Linked DNA regions of Homo sapiens: region 1 is linked to region 2. Evidence: promoter capture Hi-C in 16 types of primary human blood cells and fetal thymus (Javierre and others, 2016). All regions are on one chromosome and are shown on one strand. The core of a region is centred on a gene start or on the middle of the fragment in contact, and the rest is flanking DNA. Distances in the headings are between cores, read along the strand shown. Region 1 holds the start of ACTR1B (actin related protein 1B). Region 2 holds the start of MGAT4A (alpha-1,3-mannosyl-glycoprotein 4-beta-N-acetylglucosaminyltransferase A).

Evidence for each region. Contacts are between HindIII fragments. The CHiCAGO score rates a contact against its expected background, and 5 or more counts as called.
Region 1: a fragment that was not itself captured here is called in contact with the fragment with the promoter of MGAT4A in region 2 in 1 of 17 cell types (fetal thymus); the score reaches 5.5 in fetal thymus.

Annotation. Positions count from the first base shown.
Region 1 is chr2:97,658,529-97,665,039 of GRCh38, forward strand. It overlaps ACTR1B (actin related protein 1B), which reads right to left and starts at 5,516. Exons shown (of 11, transcript NM_005735.4): 1 at 5,315-5,516; 2 at 3,354-3,418; 3 at 2,043-2,118; 4 at 824-949; 5 at 351-475; 6 at 1-115. The coding sequence starts at 5,362. LOC124900516 (U4 spliceosomal RNA) reads right to left here and starts at 6,203; the gene lies at 6,063-6,203. It also overlaps a transcript of C2orf92 not described here and the pseudogene RNU4-8P. RefSeq lists enhancers at 3,978-4,619, 4,585-4,654, 5,695-6,034 and silencers at 5,015-5,074, 5,155-5,614. The HindIII fragment of the contact is 5,176 bases long and covers 1-4,120 here.
Region 2 is chr2:98,726,797-98,732,979 of GRCh38, forward strand. It overlaps MGAT4A (alpha-1,3-mannosyl-glycoprotein 4-beta-N-acetylglucosaminyltransferase A), which reads right to left and starts at 4,336. Exons shown (of 16, transcript NM_012214.3): 1 at 4,252-4,336. LOC107985922 (a long non-coding RNA gene) reads left to right here and starts at 4,485. Exons shown (of 2, transcript XR_007087150.1): 1 at 4,485-4,899. RefSeq lists silencers at 4,344-4,673, 4,694-4,883, 4,990-5,284. The HindIII fragment of the contact is 4,047 bases long and covers 2,280-6,183 here.

The DNA of each region.
Region 1 (6,511 bases), core at 283-2,782, 1.1 Mb before region 2:
AATGTCCACCCGCATGATGGAGTGAGGCATGGCAAAGCCCTCATAGATGGGCACAGCATGAGTGACCCCGTCCCCTGAGTCTAGAACCACTCCTGTCGTGCGTCCTGTTGCGTACCTGTCACCAGGTCAGCATCCCCTCACCTCAGCCACTGAGGCACGGGGACCTCCTCACCCAGGGGAGGAACCCTGGCACATCTGCATTATCTAGTCTGAAGAGAGGACACGAGGGACTCCCTAGAGGAACAGTCATCAAGGGGCTGTTTTTCCAGGGAAGTCAGACCCTGGTCATGGCAAGCAGGACGGCACAGGGAGGACAGGACTCAGGGAGGCCAGGCTTAGGGAGCACTCACAGACTGAGCACAGCCTGCATGGAGATGAACAGGGCCGGCACGTTGAAGGTCTCAAAGAACACCTCTGCCGCCTTCTCCCGGTTCTTACTCGGGTTGAGCGGGGCCTCCGTGAGGAGCACAGGATGCTGCGAGGGACGGGACAGTTGTAGGCATCAGAGGAGGCAACTTGCAAGGCCCTAAAAGGCTCTTTCCAGAGAACCACACCCGCTGGCGCACAGGCAGCTCAGCCTCCTACCCCTCCTGAGGGCCCCATCCCTTTATCTGCTGGCAGTTACTCTTCCGGAGATCCGGCTCTCTTTGGAAGATTCTGCCTAGCAGCCACTGGGTACGTATGCGCACCCAGACACACACGGAAAGGCAGCAGGCCCTCTAGAAATGTAGAAGGGAAATGTGGGAGCCCGGCGAGGAGGGACGCAGAGGAGAGGGGCATGGCCAGGAGAATGCAGAGCATGCAGGAGGGGCAGCCGCCACACCTCCTCCGAGAAGGTCTGCAGCTGATCCTTGGAGTAGACGTACTGCCAGATGCGTTCCATGTCGTTCCAGTCTCGCACCACGCCGTGCTCCATGGGGTAGCGGATGGTCAGCAGCCCCCGGTGCTCCTGGTGGGGTGGGAAGGGAGGTGTGGCACCCGGCCCTTGCTCAGCGGCTGCTTTCCGCCCTCCTGGAAGCTGACCCTCACCTGCCCTGACCAGAACCTCACCTGCCCTGACCAGAACCACCCCTGCTCACTGGGTGTCCCAGGGTCTGTGGCGGGTCCTGAACTCAGCATGGGCTCACCTGCCCACCAGCTTCTTAGGCTCTTAGAGCCCAGCTAGCTTCAGCTGGGGGGATCAGAGAGGGTGGCAGTGTGCCCCGCAATCTGCAGGCTCTCTTCTTCCCCATTCTCACTGCCGGCACATCCCCCACATTCTCCTCACACTCTGCCAGCTCCCCTCTGGCCAGCGCCGGCACCTTGCAGCCGCCCAACACGGCCCCTCCTGGGCCACCTGTGCCCCCTGACCTACGCCTCTCCCCCCAGCCCTTTGGCCGGTCCTCACCAGTCCCCTGTTTGCACTGACATGCTGCCTCCACCTGCCCTTCGATGTCCCCCCAGCCATGCCCCTTCTCACCTAGCACCACTTAGCTCCTCTCACCACCTCGGCTCCTACGGACCCCATCTGCGAGACCCCCACCCTCTGCACCTCCAGCTCAGGCCTCCCCTTTCTGGGCCCAGAACCACGCATGCCCCACGCCCCGGCACCCGACACAATGCTCCTCAGGCGCCTAAACTGCCCTTGGCCAAGCTCAGCTTGCTGCTCTCCCCACACCCACACATGCTCTCCTGAGGGTCTGATCAGGCCATGCAGCCCCTTGGTGGGACACTCCGGCTTCACTGTGAGAGGCGGCCCCATGGCCCTCATTAGAGCAGACGTGAAGTGTGTGTGATTCTGACTCTTATATCACTTTTTGATCAGTTCTTGGTTCTGTAGCTTCCAAATAGCTTCTAAAAGACAGGACACGATGAGCTCTACCCATGCTCCCTAGAAGAGGAACTGCTGCCCCATCTCAGGGGGAGGTGCCCCTGCACAGCACTTCCCAGCTGGAGCCTGGAGGAGGTACCCGGGAGGTCACCAGCAGAGGCCCAAGAACACATGCCATGTTCCTGCAACTGAGGACCCCACCCCCAGGGAAAGGCAGGCTCCTCGGTGTTACCTCTGCTTTTGGTCCGATGAAGAGGTCCCCCTCCAGGGCTCCAGCCATCACCCGCATGTGCTTCGGCCGCCCGACACTGTTAGGACGGATAACGTCAGCAAGGTGGGCAGGGAGCATGGCAGAGCTTGTGTCCAGAAAAACCGAAATCCAACCATAGTCGCCCAGAGGGTACCTGGCCTCCAAACACCAGGATGTGGCTGGGGGGCACAGGTTGGAACTGGGGCCTATGGGGTTCGGGGCTAGAGAGGGGGCCTAGGCAGGACGAGAAGCTCAGGGTCAGAAGGCACGGTCAGCAGAGACAGCTGCATGTCTGAGCGCCAGAACCCAGCCCTCCATGGCCCAGCCCTTGCAGAGGGTCGGCTTCCTGCAGCCACAGTGACTCAGCCCACGCTCCTGACTTCGGTGGGGCAGGGCTGCCGTCACCATCCACAGACTGAGGGAGGACAACCCCAGGAAGCTGGGTCGGGGCTCCCTTGTGCACCCTGCTCTCACTCAGTCAAGCGCCCTACCCCACTGCCAGCGCTTCTGGATCAGAGATTCAGTTCTTGGAAACTATAGGATCTGATGAGCTACCACTAAAGGCAAAGGAACCTCTAATTATACCCATGCAGTCAGAAAGGAATGCTGAAGCTCGACAGGGCGCACCATGCTAGCTCTGTCCCAGACCAGGCCGGGCTCGGGCTAGCCTGCCACTCGGGGCCTAGGATCCCCTGCTGCCCGCTGCCTTTAGGCCACTCATTCCAAAGCCTCCAGGATTTGTGAAGAGGTGCCCCTAAGGGCAACTTTCCCAATGGGCTCGTGGTGGGTGCAAGGGGCACCCCAGGCTCTCTGGGTTTGCAATTCTTATTCCCGCCCCCACCAGTACCATACAGGGCAAAGGATCCCCTCTTAACTGAAACAAGACATTTTCTAGAGTCTGAAAACAAGCCCGGCAGAAAACACTTCCAGGGAGGAAAGGGTGGCTGTGCATCTAATTCCTCACTCTTCCTGCTCCGAGTTTAGGGCTCCCCTCGGAGATGTCTCCCTTTATTCTTGCTGCTGCTACCACACCCCATCCCCAGGGAAATGCTGGTTGCTTTTCCTCCTTGCTGGCTCAACAAGACCAAAACGAGAGACTCCCAAGACAAAGGGGAACCCTAGAACGCTTGTCTTGTTCTTTCAGTGCTCTCTCAAGAGTGTCAACCTCACAAATTTGGTGTTTTCCATACAGGTCAGGGCACAAATTGTCTTCAAAGAGCCCTGTGACAGAAGGCCAATGTTCTTACAGAAGGTAAACAAAAGGACTAAGGCTGCTGCCTGAGCCACACTTACTAGTTTGGGAAACAGTATTTGGGAATCTGGTCTCCTGCAAAGCCAGCTTTAATCACCCCCGAACCCTGCAAGGAAAAACAAAGTTGAGCTGCCCACATGCACCACCAGATGAAGCCAGTCCCCCGCAATGGAGAGAGCTGGCTGCCCCGTCAAGGCAGGCCAAGGAGGAAGCCAGGGACCCTGCCAGGATCATTTACAAGTACACCTATGGTTCAAGATTGGGGGCAATTTTGTATCCCCCTGCTCTGGCAACATTTGGCAATGTCTGGCAGCTGGGGAGAGGGGACATGCAGTGGGGGATGCTATTGGCATCTAGTGGGCAGAGGCCAAGGATGCTGCTCAACATCCTACGATGCACAGGCGAGCCTGCACTACCAACAAGGAGCTAGCCCAGAATGTCAATAATATAGAGATAGAGAAACCACGAAGGGCACCTTCCTCTGCACAACTAATGGTTGGCTCCAGCAGGATTCCATAGCACATGCTACTCCCAAAAGCTAGAAGAAACCCCTCTGTGTGGGTCTTTTTTTTTTTTTTTCAACAGCTTCCTTCTCCCCCAAGAACCCAGAAGGCATGGAACATGGACGACCTACAGGGCCTGCTGGAGAAGACCAATGGGTGCATGGGATGACCGGCAGCTTCCCTCAAGTGGCTTCCCAGAGACTACTAGGAGAACTTGGTCCTATCGCTGCCCCCACCTGGAAGCTGGACTTAAGGATCCCCCAAAGAACGGGGCAATTAGAAACCTCCCACCCAGCGAAGGGATAAGCTTCTCAACTCAGTCCCACCACTCTTCATCGCAACCCTCTGAGTCTGCAGCAGAAACAAACATCTCCAAGTTACAGAGGAGGGGATGGAATCCCCAAGGGGCCGAGCGGTAGCCCTTTTAACTTATAAGCCTGTTGATTAGCCTATACGAGTTATTTGCACGTCAAGAAAGGAAGTAGCCTGCTCCTTCCTGCAGCGTCCTGCTGGTGTGACAGCACGTCCCCAAGCTCAGTGCTAACCTCCTTATTAAACATCCCCTGCTGTGACTCAGGGAACCCACATGGGTACTCTAAAACAGTCATTCAGGGACCCCACGGGGTCATGTGGGAGGGAGACAGATCCCAGAAAGAGCACAAGTGAGTCATTACCAAAAACTCCAAGGCCCGCACACCGGACGCACATACCCAGCTAGGGGCAGACTCAAAGATCCCAGCCCTTATCTTCTCCCCATATCAGAGCTCGGAAGCCAGAAATCTTCCTAAGGCAGGTGAAAGCAAGCCGAGCCCCACTGCTGAAGGACAAAGCCACAGGAAGCCTGATGACATCTTTCCTCTGAGGCTTCCAAACGATCACCCCAAATTGCTTGCTGATACTGGGAAGAGTGGCCATGAACTCTCCATTGCTCTGCTGGCTGTGGAATGTTTGCTCAGCACAGGAAGCATTTAAGGAGAAAGTCAAAGTAGCCAAAAGGCAAACCAGATGGTGGTGGACATGTGGGTGACAGAGCATCCTGCATTTGTTGCCTCGGGGTGCAGCCCCAAAGATAAAGCCAGCAGTGTGCAAATGACAAATGCTACCCCACCTCCGCCAGGCAGCCAGAGCCAGGGCCGAAGGACGCGGAAAGGAACTGGTGTGGAAACCTGCCCAGGAACCGCACTCTCAACTGAGAAGAGTCCGGGGCGCGTCCCCGCCCGGCCGCCCGGCTGTCACTCAAGCTCTCCTGAACTTCCCCGCCCGACTCGGGGAGGGGTCGGGGAAGAGGCTCTGCGACGCGGGCGAGGGGGCTCGCCCCATGGCCGGCCTTACAAGGCCAAGAGGGCGCGCGCCCCCGGGGCGAAGCCAGCGGCCCGGCGGGGGCGACGGCCACGCAGTGAGCGGAGGACGCGCCGAGGCGGGCGGGGGTCTCTCCCTGCGCCGCCGCGTGCGCCCCCGGGGGCGGGGCGCCCGCCCTCCCCCTGGCTGCCGGGCCTCACGTTGTCGATGACCACAGGCTGGTTGGCGATGATGTCGTAGGACTCCATGGCCGGGCCGCGCCGGCCCTGCCCAGCAGGCGGGCTGCAGGAGGCACCGGATGGGCGGGCGGGCGGGAGGACCGGGACGGCGGCGGCTCCCGACGCGGCGCCGCTGCCCTCCCTCCCCGAGCCTGCAGCCTACGCGAGCCCCGCGGGGCTTTCTGGAGGGCGGGCCCGGCGGCCAATCATCGCTCCCACCTGGCCCGATTGACAGCAGGTGCCCGGGGCTGGCTGCGCGAAGGGGGCGGGGCCTCCGGAGGCTGGCCAGCCAATTGAGGTCGTCCGGAAAAAAGTGGTCGCGGCGTTGCCAAGGTAGGCTGCGCAGTGTCTGGGATGATGTCATGGCTCCGTCTTAAAGGGGACGCGGGCGGCAGAAAGTGGAGCTGGGCTGGTGTGCGCGCGGCCGGAGTCTGTGGAGCTGGAAATTCACCGGTCCAGGAAGACGTCTTTCCCGCGTCCCAGCACCGGTCCAGAAAGACGTCTTTCCCGCGTCCCAGCACCTCGGGCCACGCTCCTTCGTGAGAGCGCCCTCTCCAAGGAGGCCGGCCCTGGATATTTCACCCAAAATATTTATTTTTTCTTTTTTTCTAGGTAAGGTGTCTTGCTCTGTCGCTCAGGCTGGAAATCTTGGGCTCAAGCGATCCTCCCGCGCCAGCCAGTAGGGGGGACTACAGGCGCGCACCATATTTATTTATTTTTACTGAAATAGTCTCCGTAGAGACTGTTAAAAATTGCCGATGTCGACTATATTGCAAGTCGTCACGGTGGGGTATTGCGAAAAGTTTTCAATTAGCAATAATCGCGCTTCGGATAAACCTCATTGGCCACCATACGGCCACCGCGCAACGCTAGCTAATTAAAAAAAATTTTTTTTGTAGAGAAGGGATCTCGCTATGTTCCCCGGGCTAGCCTCGAACTCCTGAGCTTAAGCGATCCTCCCGCTTAGTCTTTCCAAAGCGTTGGGATTACAGGCGTCAGCTATTGCGCACGGCCCCATAATATTTCCTCGTTGAGCACTGAAGAAAAGATCCTTTTCCTTATAAAAATTACAGTTTCGTGGTATTTTGGTCCTGGCATTTATTGAGCACCTGCTCTGTGCCTGCGGAGCACTTCTGCCCACTTTACATAAGTTATATTAAATCCTTGCAACAATATCAG
Region 2 (6,183 bases), core at 3,086-5,585:
TTTGTCTGTAAAAAGAAAGTTATGGTGACTGATTTTAAAGGGAAAAGTGGAGCTCACAGATTCCAAGATGAGAACTCTAATGATCACACAATGGTTCCTGAGTAACATAATCTTCACTCTCTCCAGTTTTCCTATTGCACAATAATAGGAAATTTTTTTAATAAGAAAATTGACAGAATACAATATATAAGGGTCAAAAGACCTGGACCCTTGACCCAGCTCTGTCATTACTTACATGATTTGGGGCATGCCACTTATCTAGGTCTCAAGGTTTCATTCACAAAATGAGGTAACAATCTGTCCTGTGTCCTCTTTCACATATTGTCATAAATTATTAAAAGGTTACAGTTATAACTGCTGTTTATCACTGTCATAAAATAAATGTCGTTTTTCCAGTGACTAACCCACTCCCAGGGTGTAAACTGGAACTATTTAAGCATTTAGAAAATGCAGCAATCCAGCCAGGATACTGTACACCTTAGGCTCTATCACTCTGCATTGCTTTAAATCAAGAAATCTGGGAAATCACCACTGATCGAACAAAGCTGTTGGGAAAAGGGAAAGAAATGAAGTCTTAGAAGTACTTAAGCACAGCATTCAGCATATAATAGGTTCTCAAAAAATGTCAACTGTACTAAAAACCAAACTTTTTTGGTTAATTGAACAACAACAAAACCAGCCAGCTACTGGTTCCAGTCCACTCTATGCATGGTCAGTCTCAATCCCTGGAGGCACGCCAGGCCCTCCAAGATGTGAACAGATTCCTGGTAGCCTCAGGAGGTGCCACAGGATGCACCTGGTAATATACTGACACTGTAGTGGGGGAGTTAATATACCTCGAAAAATGGCCAGCAGTTCCAAGGGAAAATTCTCTCTGGGGAAGAGCACAACCGATTCAAGCAGCCATTTGCAGGCAATTCAGAAATTGCCACCACCACTGCTTCTTAACACTGAACACTACTAGAAATTCCCCCTAGTAAAGAAAGATCACAGGGGCATAGTACTAATAATGACAGCCACTACAACTTATGAAATGTTTCCTATGTGCCTGATCCACCACATGGTTTAAATCTTCACAAAATCGTTCCTATGAGGCAGGCATTATTAACCCTGTTCTACACACAAGGAAATGAATCCAGAGAAAGAACTCGAATTTGTTTGTCTCCAAAGTCCAAGCTCTTAGCTGCTACACTTTCCCTCTCAAATGAGGCCTCCTGCACCTGGCAATATGAAGAGAAGTTCCAGGGATACTCCAAGTATCAGGTAAAACTGCAGAATTATACCCAACTGTAAGTGTAAATTAAAAAAATAAATTATATAACACACACTGATCTACTAAGGAGTAAGTTGCAAAATTCATGGAAATTTTCAAAGTGTATGTTTATACAACTTTAAACAAATCTCCACTTCCTGTAGCTTTTGGCTAATACCTCACCACAACCCTCCACCAAACTATGCCTGTTAACCCTCAGACAGCAGCTCTACCTTCCACATAATATTCTAGAAGCACCTAACCTCTTTTACTACCTGAACACAAAGAGATCTAAAAATATTCTCATGCAGAAGTTATCATTGTTCTCTAAGATTGAACTTATTCACCTTCTACAGTTAAGACAAGTTAACATCAAACATGCCCACGTCTACAGTTTAGAATTAAAATCTTCACAGTGGCCAGGTGTGGTGGCTCATGCCTGTAATCCTAGCACTTTGGGAGGCTGAGGCAGGCAGATTACCCGAGGTCAGGAGTTCAAGGCCAGCCTGGCCAACATGACGAAACCCTGTCTCTATTAAAAATACAAAAATTAGCCAGGAGTGGTGGCAGGTGCCTGTAATCCCAGCTTACTCGGGAGGCTGAGGCAGGAGAATTACTTGAACCTGGGAGGCAGAGGTTGCAGTGAGCCGAGATCACACCACTGCACTCCAGCCTGGGTGACAGAGACTCAGTTTGAAAAAAAAAAAAAACTTCATAGCAAGACTGCTCTAATTGTCTTAAATCAATAAGCACCCAATAATGAATTCTGATTATAAAAACACGGGTGATAATTCTATGAATTATATAACTTGGAACATTAATCCCGGTGTGGCATTATATTAAAATACTTATAACTTTCAGCTGCTATCTACTTAGCCCTATTTTACTTGAGAAAGAATTTTGTTCTAGTAAAAGATCTAAAAAGCATACAGGTTATTAGAGTAAGCACTCAATTCATAATAACGGGGAGGTAGAGCGCACATCATATAGTTAAGGATATTTTAAAAGTTTTACTAAATACAAATAAAGCTTGTAAAAACATTCCGTAGAAATGCATAGAGACAAGTAAATGAACTCTAAAACCAAAGTAAACTATTGATATACTACCCCTAATATATGAAAAAAAAAAAATACTGGATCCAGTAAGTTATGAAACTCTGAAGATACTTACAATAAATTCTACTAGCAAATAAGCCCTGAAATTTTGCAAGAAAAATATGCGTGTTTTACTCAGTAAGAATGTAGTCATACATTTTTAATTAGGGTTTCCCAGCTAATAAGTTTAACTGCACGGCACAAGTGAAGAAACTCTTCGGACAAGAGTAAAACCAAGGATCTACTCACTCTTCAATTATGAGACATAATTCACAGGCTGGCTTGTAAGACACAGGTGACCCACATTTTTATTAGTGTCCACATTTGCAAAAATTTTAATCTAGCCCCTTAATATTCTCGGAGACTATAATCTAACACGTTTGAATCTTTAACAACAACAAAAAAAGGTAGTGGCTAAAATTGCTAGTCATTTCTCCACCCTCCCAAAGGTGAATGGAACTTTCAACTCTAGACATCAGACTGTTTTGTTAGCAATCCTTTAAGGGCTTCAGTCTTCATTTTATTATTGGATACAAAACCTTTACTTATTTTAAAGTGTTCTCTGAAATACTCAATATAGTCCACGGCTGAGAACACTTTGCCGAACGTTTGGCATCTTCCTTAATCAGCATCCCACAGACAGGGTAGAGGTGACTTAAGAATGAAAGGCACAATAATCCCTGATATCTGGAATCAATAAAATCCATGACGTAAGCCTATATAACTTTACACACCACAATTGTGGCAAAATTCATTTATTTGCCATTTATAAACGGGTCAGTAGTTTTCTTTAATACAGCTTACGTAATGTCATCGCCCAGTGCGTTTTCGGGTTTACACGTGTGGGTTAAAGAAATCTATGTCAAGATAACCTGTTCATCAAACTGTTTTTTAAACATTCAGAAAAAGAAACATAAACCACAAAACGCATATTTTTATTCTAAATTTACAGTCTACGTTCCAACGAACGACTGTCATTATCTTTTATCAAATAATCTGTCCAACAGCAAAAGCACAACAGCAAAATACGTGGAAAGCATTCAAAGCATACATTGTGCCTGCTTCTATTTTCCAATGCGGAATGTAGGCAATGAAACCGCTCCAGAGAAACACACTGTTGCGAGGAATAAAGGCGGGTGTGCAAGTGGCTCGACTGCCAGCTCAGAAAAGCTCGCCTCCGAGATGTCACCTGGCACACTTGGTGGAGTCACCGAGACCCAGCCTCAGGGTCCTACTGCAGCTTCCTCATTACGGAGAGAGCTGAGGCCTGGGGAAACGGGGGCTGCTCTTTCACGCGGGCCCCGCAGCCCTTCACTTTGTGTGAAAATTCCCTGCGAAGGCTGCACGGCCGGTCCCCTCGGGAGCAGCCCCTGCCCCTGCGCCTCGGACCGTCCGGCCCCGCCCACCTGCCCCGCGGCCCCCGCGAAAGCGCCGACTCCCGCGCAGCCCCCGGGTCCCACAGGCAGCTGTCCCTCCCCCTCCGCACCCCCCGGATCAGCACTTTGCTCCACTTTCCCCCAAAGTCGCCGAGCCCCGCCACGCCGGGGAGCGCCAGGAACGCACCAGGCGCCGAGCCGGCCGCAGAGAGGGCGCGCGACCCCGAGGGGTGCGCGGTGCGGGGCAGGGACGCTGGGAGGACGGCCCGGCCCGCGCCCCGCCGCCCGCCCCCGAGGCCCAGCCGCTCCCGGAGCCGGCCCCGCGCCCAGAGGCGCCAACAGCTCCCCCGCACAGAGCTCCGGCCGGGCCGCGGCGCAGTAGGCTCCTTTACCAGCAGGTGGATCTCCCGCAGCCCGGGGCCGCCAGCCCGGCCGCCGGCGCCGCCCCCAACTCCCGCGCCCTCCGCGCAGCCGCCCCGCGCCCCCTCCCGCCCCCGCGCGCCGCCGCTGCCGCCGCGAGCCCCTCACCCGCCGCTGGCGTCGCCGTGCTCCCGCGGCTGCCGGCGGAGCTGCTGTAGCCGCCGCCGCCGCTGCCGCCGCCGCTGCGGGCCGCCCCGCCCGCCCCGCCGGCTCCGCCCCCGCCGCTGGAGCGCCCGCCCCGCCCCGCCCCGCCGGGCCGCCCCGACCCCGCCAGCCATTGGCCGGCCCCGCGGGCCCCGCGCCCCGCGCCCCGCGCCCCACCAGTGGCCCGCGCGACTGTCACTTAGGGGCGCCGCCACGCAGCCTGCGGAGCGTTCGGGAGGCTGGCCCGGCTCATCGGTGTCACGGCGAGGTCCGGAGCGGAGCCGCGGTCTCGGGTCCCAGCTCTGGGCGCCGGCCTGCTCCCCGCCGCCCCGCTGCCACATCTGGCTGAGATCCTCCCGGCGCGTGCAGGGACCGCTCCGGCGGCCAACAAAGGCCCGGGCGAGCCCTCGGCCTGCGCCTCGGCGCGCGACCCGACCACCCGGGGCTGCCCCAGCTCCCAGGCGCCTGCCTGCCTCGACCCGGCCCCTTCCCAGCGGCGCGCCCCGCTCCGGGCCGCCCAAACTGGGCGGCCTCCCCGGGGACAGGTCCCGGGCCCAGCCCCACAGGAGCTCCCGAGGCCCCGCGGACGGTCGCGACAGCCCCAACTTCCCGGTGAGAACCCCGCGAATCGGCCAGAAGGGCTGATTTCAGCAACTGGGAAGGAGAAAAACAACTAGGGTTTCAACGCACATCGTTGGGTGCTAATGCCCCTGATTTTCCACTATGCCCCGTTTTCTTGAACCCCATGTCCTTATCTGTCGCCGTTTCACAAGGTTAGAGGTTAACTTCAAAGGCAAAAAACTGACTCGTTTGTAGAAAGCCTGGGTGGTCTGTCCCTGTTTTTCATAGTATCCATAGGACTTGTGCTAACAGTAACTACCCCTGGGTACGTCCTCTTTTGAATACTTAACTGTATAGCAGGCAACCGTATAGCAGGCATGGGTGTTAGATCGTTTATTGCATATCTCATGTTTTAAATTTATTCCCCATTTTTCATAAGAGGAAACTAGCTGAGAGGTGAAAGGGCTTGCCCAAGGTCACACAGCTGGTAATGGTTCAAAAACAAGGGATGTGTTAACTTTATTGCCGCAATAATCCTTACAGCAATCCTACCGAGTAACCTGTAAGGGAATTGAGGGGCCAAAGATCAAGGAGGCAGCCTTGTTCCTGCCAAACTCCCAAAGTAATAAGTAGATTCTTTTCAGAAAACAGTAATTTCAATAATCGAAAACTCTTAAGAGGCATCAATCAGAACAGGGTCCCCTCCCCACCTCCGATAAATTCCATTATTTTTATCTCAAGATAAGAATAATTAATAATCAGCTAGAACATGCATGGAGTTATCAGCCTTCCCATGTTGAGGTTTCTCCATGACGGCTAATTTAAAACTTCAGGAAGAGACACGTAACATCCCTGCTCCCATAGTCTCTTACTAGTTTAGGGGAACCATACCAAAAGATCTGTCCACTGCCCAGCACTGTGGACACAACTTGGGGGATCACAGCCATGATATCCAATGACAGCTCTTCCCTCTACTTTGAGTGTGTTTTCTCTCTACTTCCGGTTTGGCTGTGTCCCCACCCAAATATCATCTTGAATTGTAAATCCCACAATTCCTGTGTGGTGGGAGGAACCTGGTGGGAGGTAATTGAATCATGGGGGAGGGTCTTTCCCATGCTGTTCTCGTGATAGTGAATAAGTCTCACGAAATCTGATGGTTTTAAAAAAGGGAGTTTTGCTGCACAAACTCTCTTTGCCTGCCACCATCCATGTAAGAAGTGACTTGCTCCTCCTTGCCTTCCACCATGATTGTGAGGCCTCCCCTGCCATGTGGAACTGTAACTCCATTGAACCTCTTTTGTCCGTTGCCCAGTCTTGGGTATGTCTTTATCAGCA